Linked DNA regions of Homo sapiens: region 2 is linked to region 1. Evidence: promoter capture Hi-C in human tissues and cell types (Jung and others, 2019). All regions are on one chromosome and are shown on one strand. Each heading gives the region's core, a stretch centred on a gene start or on the middle of the fragment in contact. The rest is flanking DNA. Distances are from core to core; before and after follow the strand shown.

Region 1 (4,563 bases), core at 1,435-3,934:
GACTATTCTGAATTCAAGGCACTCACTGAACATGTGCTAGATGAGAACTCACCATGGATGAAGCACTGGGTACTGGACAAGGGGCAAGATCAGCGAGGAGGAAAAAGCTGGAAGACAGAAGGCAGCGTATCTTCTGATGACCACTCCAAATGGAAATATCATTTCCAAAATAGACTGTAAGCTCCATGAGAGCAGTAACAGGGTCTGACTTGTCCACTGCTGGATCCCTAGTTGTGCTTGGTACAAAGTAGCATAGCAATTATTGAACTCTTCCAATAATTGCTACTATGTAGCTCAATAGTTTTTTTTCAGTGCATAAATACATGTGACAGATATTCTTTTATTTATTTTTTTGAGACAGAGTCTCACTCTGTCGCCAGGCTAGAGTAGAGAAGCACGATCTCAGCTTACTGCAACCTCTGCCTCCCGGGTTCAAGCGATTCTCCTGCCTCAGCCTCCCAAATAGCTGGGACTACAGGCGCATGCCACCACGCCCAGCTAATTTTTGTATTTTTTAGTAGAGACGGGGTTTCACCATATTGGCCAGGCTGGTCTTGATCTCTTGACCTCGTTATCTGCCCGCCTCGGCCTCCCAAAATGCTGGGATTACAGGTGTGAGCCACCGCGCCCAGCCCTTCATGTGACGGATATTCTTAAACTATCTTCCCATCTCCTACTGGAGTTACAAATGCATGGATCTAGACTTCTTAAAAGACTGGACATTCCTTAGGGCAGGGGTTGTAACTTAAGTCGTGTGTGCATTCTTTATAATGAAGCATTTTACAAAGTGGTTTCACATACATTACTGCTTCCGTTTCTCATTACAGCCCCATTAATATTCCCCACCTGATGAGGAAACTTTCTTCATTCTCCTTCCTGCTTCCTCTTCTCTCTCCTCTTCCTCTAGAATGCGTGTATGGTCTATGTTCCTTCTGTCTCTAATCCAGAAAGAGATTTAGAATAACTAAATGCAGAGTCAAAGATTATGTCCAAATAAAGTTAGAGTTTGTGTGTGTGTGAGACAGTGTTTTTAGTTAAATGTCAATATTTAAAATATACTATGACTTTTATACCATATTTTTTCATGTTGTCATGTTCTTTTAAACATGCTGGGAGCCATAAAGTTAGGAAGAGGCCCAGTAACCCGTCCAAAGTAACCTGACCAAAGTCTGACCCCTAGTAGAGGGCCTATGCCAGCACTGGAACCCAGTGTCTCCAGATCCAGAGGCATTCACCACCTCAAATCTGCCTCAAATGTCTGCAGTATGGTCTATCACAGGGGCTAATTAAGCTCATGGGATTTAGAGTCAGACAGATGTGTTTCCTTCAAAGTTTCAACAGTTACTTTCTGACCTTGGCAAGTTATTCAGCTTCCTCATTTGAAAACTAGAGGGCATAATGGTACCTACCACCGAGAGTTGCTATTAGGAGTAAATGAAAATACGCTTGAAGAACTCAGCATGGGCCTGGCAAGTAGTCAGCGTGCAGTAAATGGTAGCTGTTATTTTAAGAACTTTATTTGTTGAATGATTGACTCTGGCACATAACGCCTGCATTCAACTTGAAACACGGAGCTGTCACAGTCGTTCAGCTGAAGGGGCGGGAACTGTGGCACTTGCCAATTTTTTCTAGAAATAAATCTTTGTGGGAGGATAATGACCGGTTGGAGAGTGTGAGTCTTGAGGGAACAAAGATCGGATCTCCCGGCCCAAGGAGTACGGAAGCGAAGCCTCCCCTGCGCGCGGCAGCCACCGTGCGTAACCTCCCCTGAACCGAGTAGCAGCCGCCTGAGCCCACCCAGCCCTGGGCGAGGCTGCCTCAGAAGCCGGATTTCAGCAGAGTGGGTGCAGGATCTGCTTTAATTCTGCTCATCTTATTCTCGGGGACCACACCCTGCGCGCCGGGAGGAAGGGCTCCAAAACCACAGGGCGGAGGCTTCCGCGCGGCCCCAGACTTGACCATCTATGGTCACAGAACACACCGACCAAACAGGAAGTGGGGTGAGAGCGGAGGGTTCCCTACCTTCCCAGCCCCGCGACTGCCAGCCGGGCTGGGGCTGACCCACCGCGCCCTCACTGACCCCCACGCCCTGCGCCCAGTCTCCGCAAGTCCTCCCACAACAATGTCCAGACTAATTGCCTTCCCACGTCACAAACGGGGAAACCGAGGTATGCACGCCCAGAGACAGGCGGAGCGTGGCCTCGATCACCACCGAGAGCTGACGGCCGCCCGGATTCCCGCCCTCAGAGAATCCTGGCCCCCAGTCGTTCCAAGACCCTTTACGGACTGCAGCTTAAAGGAACCGGCCTCTGCCATTGAGACCAAACTGACAGAGGAACTGGTCACTCTTCTGTTCTTTCCAGAGAGGAGCTTAGCCAGGGACTTCTGCCCTTCCTGGGCCCGGGCCTCGGGGGCGATTCCGGGTAGGTAAAGCGGAACGAGGGCGTGGCCTCTCTTGTGAGCCCGCCCTCCCCGTGTCGCTCCCGCCTTGAGGGCGGGGCTCTTTCCCAAGTGCCCTCTGTGAGAGCCGGGCCGCTCTCTCCGGGGCGTGGCGAAGAGGGGCGGAGTCACGAGCGGGGCGGTGAGACTTCCTGCCCAGTCGCGGGCCAGCCTAGCGCTTCAGCCGGCGGCTCATTTCCGGTGGGGGCGCCGCGCCCAGTGAGGGCCCGGAAGTGGGTCGCGCGGAGATTGCTGGGCGGTTCTTGCCGGAAGCGGAGAGCGGCTGATCGCAGTCCGGAGGTGAGGCGGAACTCTGAGGTGAGGGTGTGCAGCTTGGTAGGGATTGGGGTCCCTTCCGGGGCCCATCGGCCCCTGGTGGTGTTAATGGCCCTTCTGGCCTACGCGCGTGTCATGAACCCTGCCGAGAGGGCCGGGGCTGAGGCCCTCAGGCCGACCCGGACTCTTGGGCGCGGTCTCTTGAGGTGGGGCCGGGGTGAGCAGCTGAGTCCGGGTGCCCCGGGGAGGCCCCTCTGCCCGATTTCGCAGCGCTGCCCATCAGCTTCAGCGGAGGCCTGATTCCTGAGGTGCTCTGACTGGAAGGAACCTCCGAGATCGGAGAGTCTTCCCTGTCTCCTGTTGATGCTCCCATTGCACTGATAGGTAAATTGATCCCTAGAGAAGAGGCTAGTCTGAGATATATAGCGAGTGAGGAAAAGAATCGGAATCATGATCCTGGTGCCTTAGATAACCAGCCCCAGTTCTTCCCGTGTTGCTCGGAACCTCTCTAACTTGGGATGGTCTTCCGGTCGGTGTTGCCCCGCAGGCTGCTGCAGGTTAAAGGCCAGCGCTGCGTGGAACTTTTTTTTTTCTCTCCTCCCAAATTGAGCCGTTTGAAATGCCTAGGGAGTTTTTAAAAGAAAGGCGGGCACATCCTTGTATTTACAGGCAGATATCCTCCCTTTCCTCCTCGGCTGCTGCTCTTACTTTGACAAGCCAGGCTAACATTGAAGGTATGTACTTCTGGACCTGAAATCAGACGGCTCAGGTTTGGTCTGGCCTCAGTGCTGAGTGTCTGTGGCCATAGGTGCCTTAAACTTCTTTCAGCCTCCTTTTGTTCATCTTTTAAGTGGAGATCTCTGCTGACCCCACAAGATTAAATTCAGCGTAACAAATTGTGTTTATTCTGTGCCAGCATTTTCCCAGATGCGGGGAATGCAGCTTTAAAACAAAACAATGTAGACCCTGCCCGCGTGGAGCTAGCAGTGTTTGCAGGGATGTTTAAGAAGTAATTATAAATGTTGATGAGTGTTAGGAAAGAACAGGGTGCTCTGAAAGTATGTAACAGGGGGTTCAGGAAAAGCCCTTCTGAAGAAGCAGAGTTTTTAAGATGAATTTTGAAGGATAAATAGGAATGCGTTCGAAGAGTGGAATGAGAACATTTGAGACAGGTTAGCATCAGAACTGTGTCAGTTGAAGCTCTTTGTGGGGCTCTCTCTTCAAGAGAAAATCCGGGGGCATATCAGCACATTTATCATTTACCAGACTTTTATTTAATTTATTTATTTGTATTTTTAGTAGAGATGGGGTTTCGCCGTGAAGGCCAGGCTGCTCTCGAACTCCTAACCTCAGGTGATCCCCCCACCTCGGCCTCCCAAAGTGCTGGGATTACGGGCATGATCCACCGTGCCCGGCCCCACCAGACGTTTATTAAGACCTTAATATGTATGAGGCACATTTTAATGAGATAGCCTTTGTGGCAAAGAATACAGTTCTTCTGGAGTTTACAGTGGGAGAGGAAATAGACAAGTAAATGAGGGATGGCTTACAGTGTCATAGTGCATAGCACAGGGCTACAAGAGCACAGTGGAGAAATACCTGAGCCAGGTGCCCAGGGTTCCAGGAGGAAATGGGAGGCTAACTCTTGAAATATTTATTTAGCTACATAGGGAATCCGGAAAAGGGATTTCCAGGCAGAGACTACTACAGGTGCAAGGACCTGGAGAACCGGACAGCTGAAAGACCATGACGAGTTCAGTGTGACTGGAATTCTAGTAATGGCTGGGGAAGTGGAGGAAGTGAGATGTGGTCAGGTCAGTCATATGTGGAGGACATTGTAAGTCATGC
Region 2 (4,563 bases), core at 703-3,202, 310 kb before region 1:
CTCCTGCTATCAGCGAAGAAAAGTGTCACTGAGTGGCAGATAGAATGTTTTAGCTTCTAGTCCCTCAAACAGTCTCCATGATACAAACACTGACTCAGTTAAGAATCCAGGAAGACTCTTGGAGACTGCGGTTGCTAAGAGTGACGAACTTGAACTGGGTTTGTTCTTTTCTTTGGGAATCCTGCAGCTGTGCGGCATGTAGCACCTGTGCCACCACACTCACGCTCACTGCTCCTCCTTGTGCTGTTGCTCTGTATAAATACACCTCCGATGTTGGCAGCCCACGGCCTGTGATTCAGCCTCTGTAGTGGAGCCCAGGCACCCAATGTGCTAAGAATAGAATTTTCCATTTCAACTTTATTTGCAAGAAGGTTTTCTGTATTTCATTCATCAGGTATTAAAAGTCTACTAAATACCAAGGAATTGTGCAGTGGTATGGGATTACAGTGGTAAGCAAACTGACATGGTCCCACTTTCAAAATGCTCTTTCTCTGGTTGGAGAGAAGGGGTTTTAAAAAGTAAATGCGTCCTCTAGTTTTGAATATTTTAAAAAATGTAAATGCAGCCAGGCACTGTGGCTTATGCTATGCCTGTAATCCCAGCACTCTGGGAGGCTGAGGTGGGAGGATCGCTTGAGCCCGGGAGTTTGAGACCAGCCTGGGCAATGTGGCAAAACCCCATCTCTACAAAAAAATAGAAAAATTAGCCAGGTGTGATGGTGCACGCTAGTCAGTAGTCCCAGCTACTCGGGAGGCTGAGGCAGGAGGTTGAGTCCAGGAGGTTGAGGCTTGAGGCTGCTGCTGTGAGCCGTGATCACACCACTGCACTCCAGCCTGGGTAACAGAGTGAGACTCTGTCTCAAAAAAATAAAAAGAAAATGCAAATACAAATTGTGCTAAGTGTGACTATGATGTCTAAATGCTCCCCTCAGAAATACAGGAGAATGATGCTTCCCACACTCCTATTCATTTCACCTACTTAAAGCTTTCTAAAGCGATTTCCAAACCTTAATGCCACATGAAAAGATACGAAGCCTTTCTGCTGCCTTCAGGGACCTACTTCTAGACTGGAGCTCATCACTGACATCATATGCTAATGTTTCTAGAGCATTTAATGAAAGAGGCATTATGGCATATAATAATTATAACTGTTTTGGTATTTACACCTTTTGATCCAGTCACTTCTGGGCATCCCTCCAAAGGGGATAATGTGGTCCTTAGAAAAAAGCTGTACTGCTAAAGATAGTTACTGGAGCTTTATATATTCAATCAACAAATTAAATACTCAGTTATTACTTTGCTAATGTGAGTAAATTGCTTGACCTCCCTGGGTGGCCTGGGTAAAATGGGGAGATAATCTCTATCTCAAGTTTGTGACAACTAAATGTCTGTGGAAATATCTCCCTAGCACTAGGCTCAACGAAGAGTAGGTGTGCTCTGGATGGGCTCTTTTCACCTTCCCTTTCTAATTATGTTGCATGTTATTATACATATGATGAGAATCTATGCAGTTTTTCTGTTTGTTTGGATGTTTTTTTGAGATGGAGTCTTACTCTATCACCCAGGCTGGAGTGCAGTAGTGCCATCTTGGCTTACTGCAACCTCTGGCTCCCGAGTTCAAGTGATTCTCCCGCCCCAGCCTCCCGAGTAGCTGGGACTACACGTGCACACCACCACGTCCAGCTAATTTTCGTGTTTTTAGTAGAGACAGAGGTTCACCATGTTGGCCAGGCTGGTCTTGAACTCCTGACCCCAGGCAATCCGCCCACCTCGGCCTCCCAAATTGCTTGGATTATAGGTGTGAGCCACCACACTCAGCTTCATAGTTAGTTTTTTGAGTCAGAATTTCACTCTGCCACCCAGACTGGAGTGCGGTGGTACAATTTCGGCTCACTGCAACCTCCGCCTCCTGAGTTAAAGTGATTCTCCTGCCTCAGCCTCCTGAGTAGCTGAAGCTACAGACAGACACCACCACACCTGGCTAATTTTTGTGTTTTTAGTAGAGGCAGGGTTTTGCCATATTGGCCAGGCTGGTCTCACACTCCTGAGCTCAAGAAATTCACCCGCCTCCGTCTTCCAAAGTGCTGGAATTACAGGCGTGAGGCACTGAGCGCGATGGAGAATCTATACAGTTTTATATCACCACCACTCCCCTCAAAATGCGCTGAATTTGGTCAAAAACCATTACTTCTCCCCTTCGCCTGGATTCTGAATGGTAGCATTCAGGTGTCGAGTGGTTGGAGTGTCCTAACTTTGACCACCATCGAGTGCTGTCCTTTCCTTGGGTGCTAACCCACTGCTTCTCCTGGTTCCCAGGCACCCCAGCCTGCTGTCCATGTGCAGGCCAGGAACCCCTGACTGCCTCCATGCTGGCGGCAGCACTTTCCCAAGAACAGAAGCAGGTGCTGAGTGAGTGACCCACGCGCCTACGAAAGAAGAGAGGGCCAGAAGCTGGTGCTGACGCAGACACCAAGGTTACTGAGATTCCGTTTGGTTTTTTATGAACTATCTTCCCCACAGGAGACATTTGTTCCTCCTTATCCAAACAATGCATTCAAACTTGGCTGTAAAGATTGTAGGAAGAGATGCACAGGGCAAGGTGGGAATGGAGAGGGGCTGGTGAGCTTCCATGCCCTCTCTAGGCATGCTGTGTTCCAAGCACATCAATGTATTCACCAACCTGGAAACTCCCCAAACCGCATTTAGAGTGTTTATATGAGGTTTCATTACCTAGGCATGGCTGATTAAACCACTGGGTGTTGGTGATTGAACCCAATTTCCAACCCCCTCCTCTCCTCAGAGGTTGGAGGCGGGAGCTGGAAGTCCCAACCCTCTAATCACATGGTTGGTTTCTCTGATGACCAACCCCCATCCTGAAGCGAGCTAGGGGTTCTACCTTGAGTCATCTGCTTAGCACAAACTTAGGTAGGGTCAAAATGGGCTCATTATGAATAACAAAAGACACAGCACTCAGGATATTCCAATGATTTTAGAAGCTCTGTGCCAGGAACTAGGACAAAGACCAAGTATCTATTTTTTATTATACCACACCACATAAAGGACGCCTGGTCAGATTCTTCCTGAGAGTGACCTTTTGTTTTGGAATAGTGACGGGTACACAAAGAGCTCTCCTAATCAGATCTCACAGCCTCATTCCTATAAGTATCAACTCCCTGGTTTGGCATGAGGTTGGTAAGGTCAGCTGTGTGCGCAGCCACTGCTTAGCTCTGGGAATACAATGGGTACAGGCCGTGGTGTCAAATACCTTCATCTACTGGGAGAGAGAGACATACCTGACTATAGTTATAGGGTGTATTCCAATTGACTTCTGAACTTGGGGACTATGGACTCTGTCTATAGGGGATTTGGGTGAGTGAAGCTTAACTAGGACCTCTGACAAGGACTGGTGGGTGCCTCCAGATGGAGAAAAGAAAGAACTCAATGAGCAAAAGCAGAGGCAAGGAAAAAGAGCCCATGGTAAGTAGGTGAGGAACTGATGTGGAGGTCAGGGTTGACTTGAGGTAGGCATGGACCCCTTGTCAAGGACCTTGTTAGCAGCATCAGTGATTTAGGTAGGGAGTTCTAGAGAATTTAGGTTTATTTTGAAGAAAGATAACCCTAGGCCGGGTGTAGTGGCTCACACTTGTAATCCCAGCACTTTGGGAGGCCGAGGCAGGAGGATCGCTTGAGTCCAGGAGTTTGAGACCAGCCTGGGCAACATGGCAAGACCCTGTCTCTAAAAAAAAAAAAAAAAAAAAAAAATTAGCTGGGCATGGTGACGTGCACCTGTACTCCCAGCTGCTACTCGGGAGGCTAAGGTGGGAGGATCATTTGAGGCTGGGAGGTTGAGGCTGCAGTGAACCATGATCATGTCACTGCCTTCCAGCCTGGGTAAGAGAGCAAGACCCTGTCTCAAAGAAAAAAAGAAAAAAAAAATCACCCTGGACAAGTGGATTGGAGGAACAGAGCCACTATCAACTCTTCCTTAGTCTACTACATTAACTTCCTGGTCTCCTGGGTTCCAATCAACCCATCCTGGGCCTAGTGTCAGAGCACTGTCTAAAATGATGTGAGCATGTAACTCTCCTGTTGTAACTTCAGCAGCTTCTCAAAGCTCCCAAATCTTCCAGAAGGCTTACAGCACCCTCATGATGTGGCCCTCTGCCTACCTTTCCCACCTGATATGCCCTCCACCCCACCATCCCAGGCTCTGGTCTTTTAGTTCCTTGAGTGTGCGGAAGCTGCCTCCTCCTCTCTCTGGCTCCTTTTCCTTCAGAATTCAGCTTAAATGTCACCTCAGGAAGGTCTTAACCCCCTGCTCCATATAAAATAGATGGTCCCATTATTTCCTACCACTATGTCAACCTGTAATTTATATATTAGTGGGTTTAGTCCAAGATGTTACTCTAAACTGCACCATTTTGTAAGCTCCCTGCTATTCTGCAGACCTTGGTCAAAGTGAAACATTTCACAGGGGTTTGGGCTGTGAGAAACATCCTGCCTAACCACCCGACCACAAGGCAGACAAAGGCCCAACTAAAGAAACATCCCTCTCATATCTTCC

Evidence for each region. Contacts are between HindIII fragments. The study calls those that stand out against the background at their distance.
Region 2: a contact is called between a fragment that was not itself captured here and the fragment with the promoter of CAP1 in region 1, in 1 of the 25 tissues and cell types used here (dorsolateral prefrontal cortex).

The regions. Positions count from the first base shown.
Region 1 is chr1:40,038,045-40,042,607 of GRCh38, forward strand. CAP1 (cyclase associated actin cytoskeleton regulatory protein 1) reads left to right here and starts at 2,685. Exons shown (of 13, transcript NM_006367.4): 1 at 2,685-2,757. It overlaps LOC105378669 (a long non-coding RNA gene), which reads right to left and starts at 2,402. Exons shown (of 3, transcript XR_001738013.3): 1 at 847-2,402; 2 at 53-107. RefSeq lists enhancers at 1,703-2,336, 2,305-2,374, 2,337-2,971, 2,625-2,824, 2,895-2,984. The HindIII fragment of the contact is 19,514 bases long and covers 1-4,563 here.
Region 2 is chr1:39,733,153-39,737,715 of GRCh38, forward strand. No RefSeq gene overlaps it. Among named protein-coding and RNA genes, the nearest start is that of PPIE, 3.4 kb to the right of the region's middle. The HindIII fragment of the contact is 4,491 bases long and covers 1-4,198 here.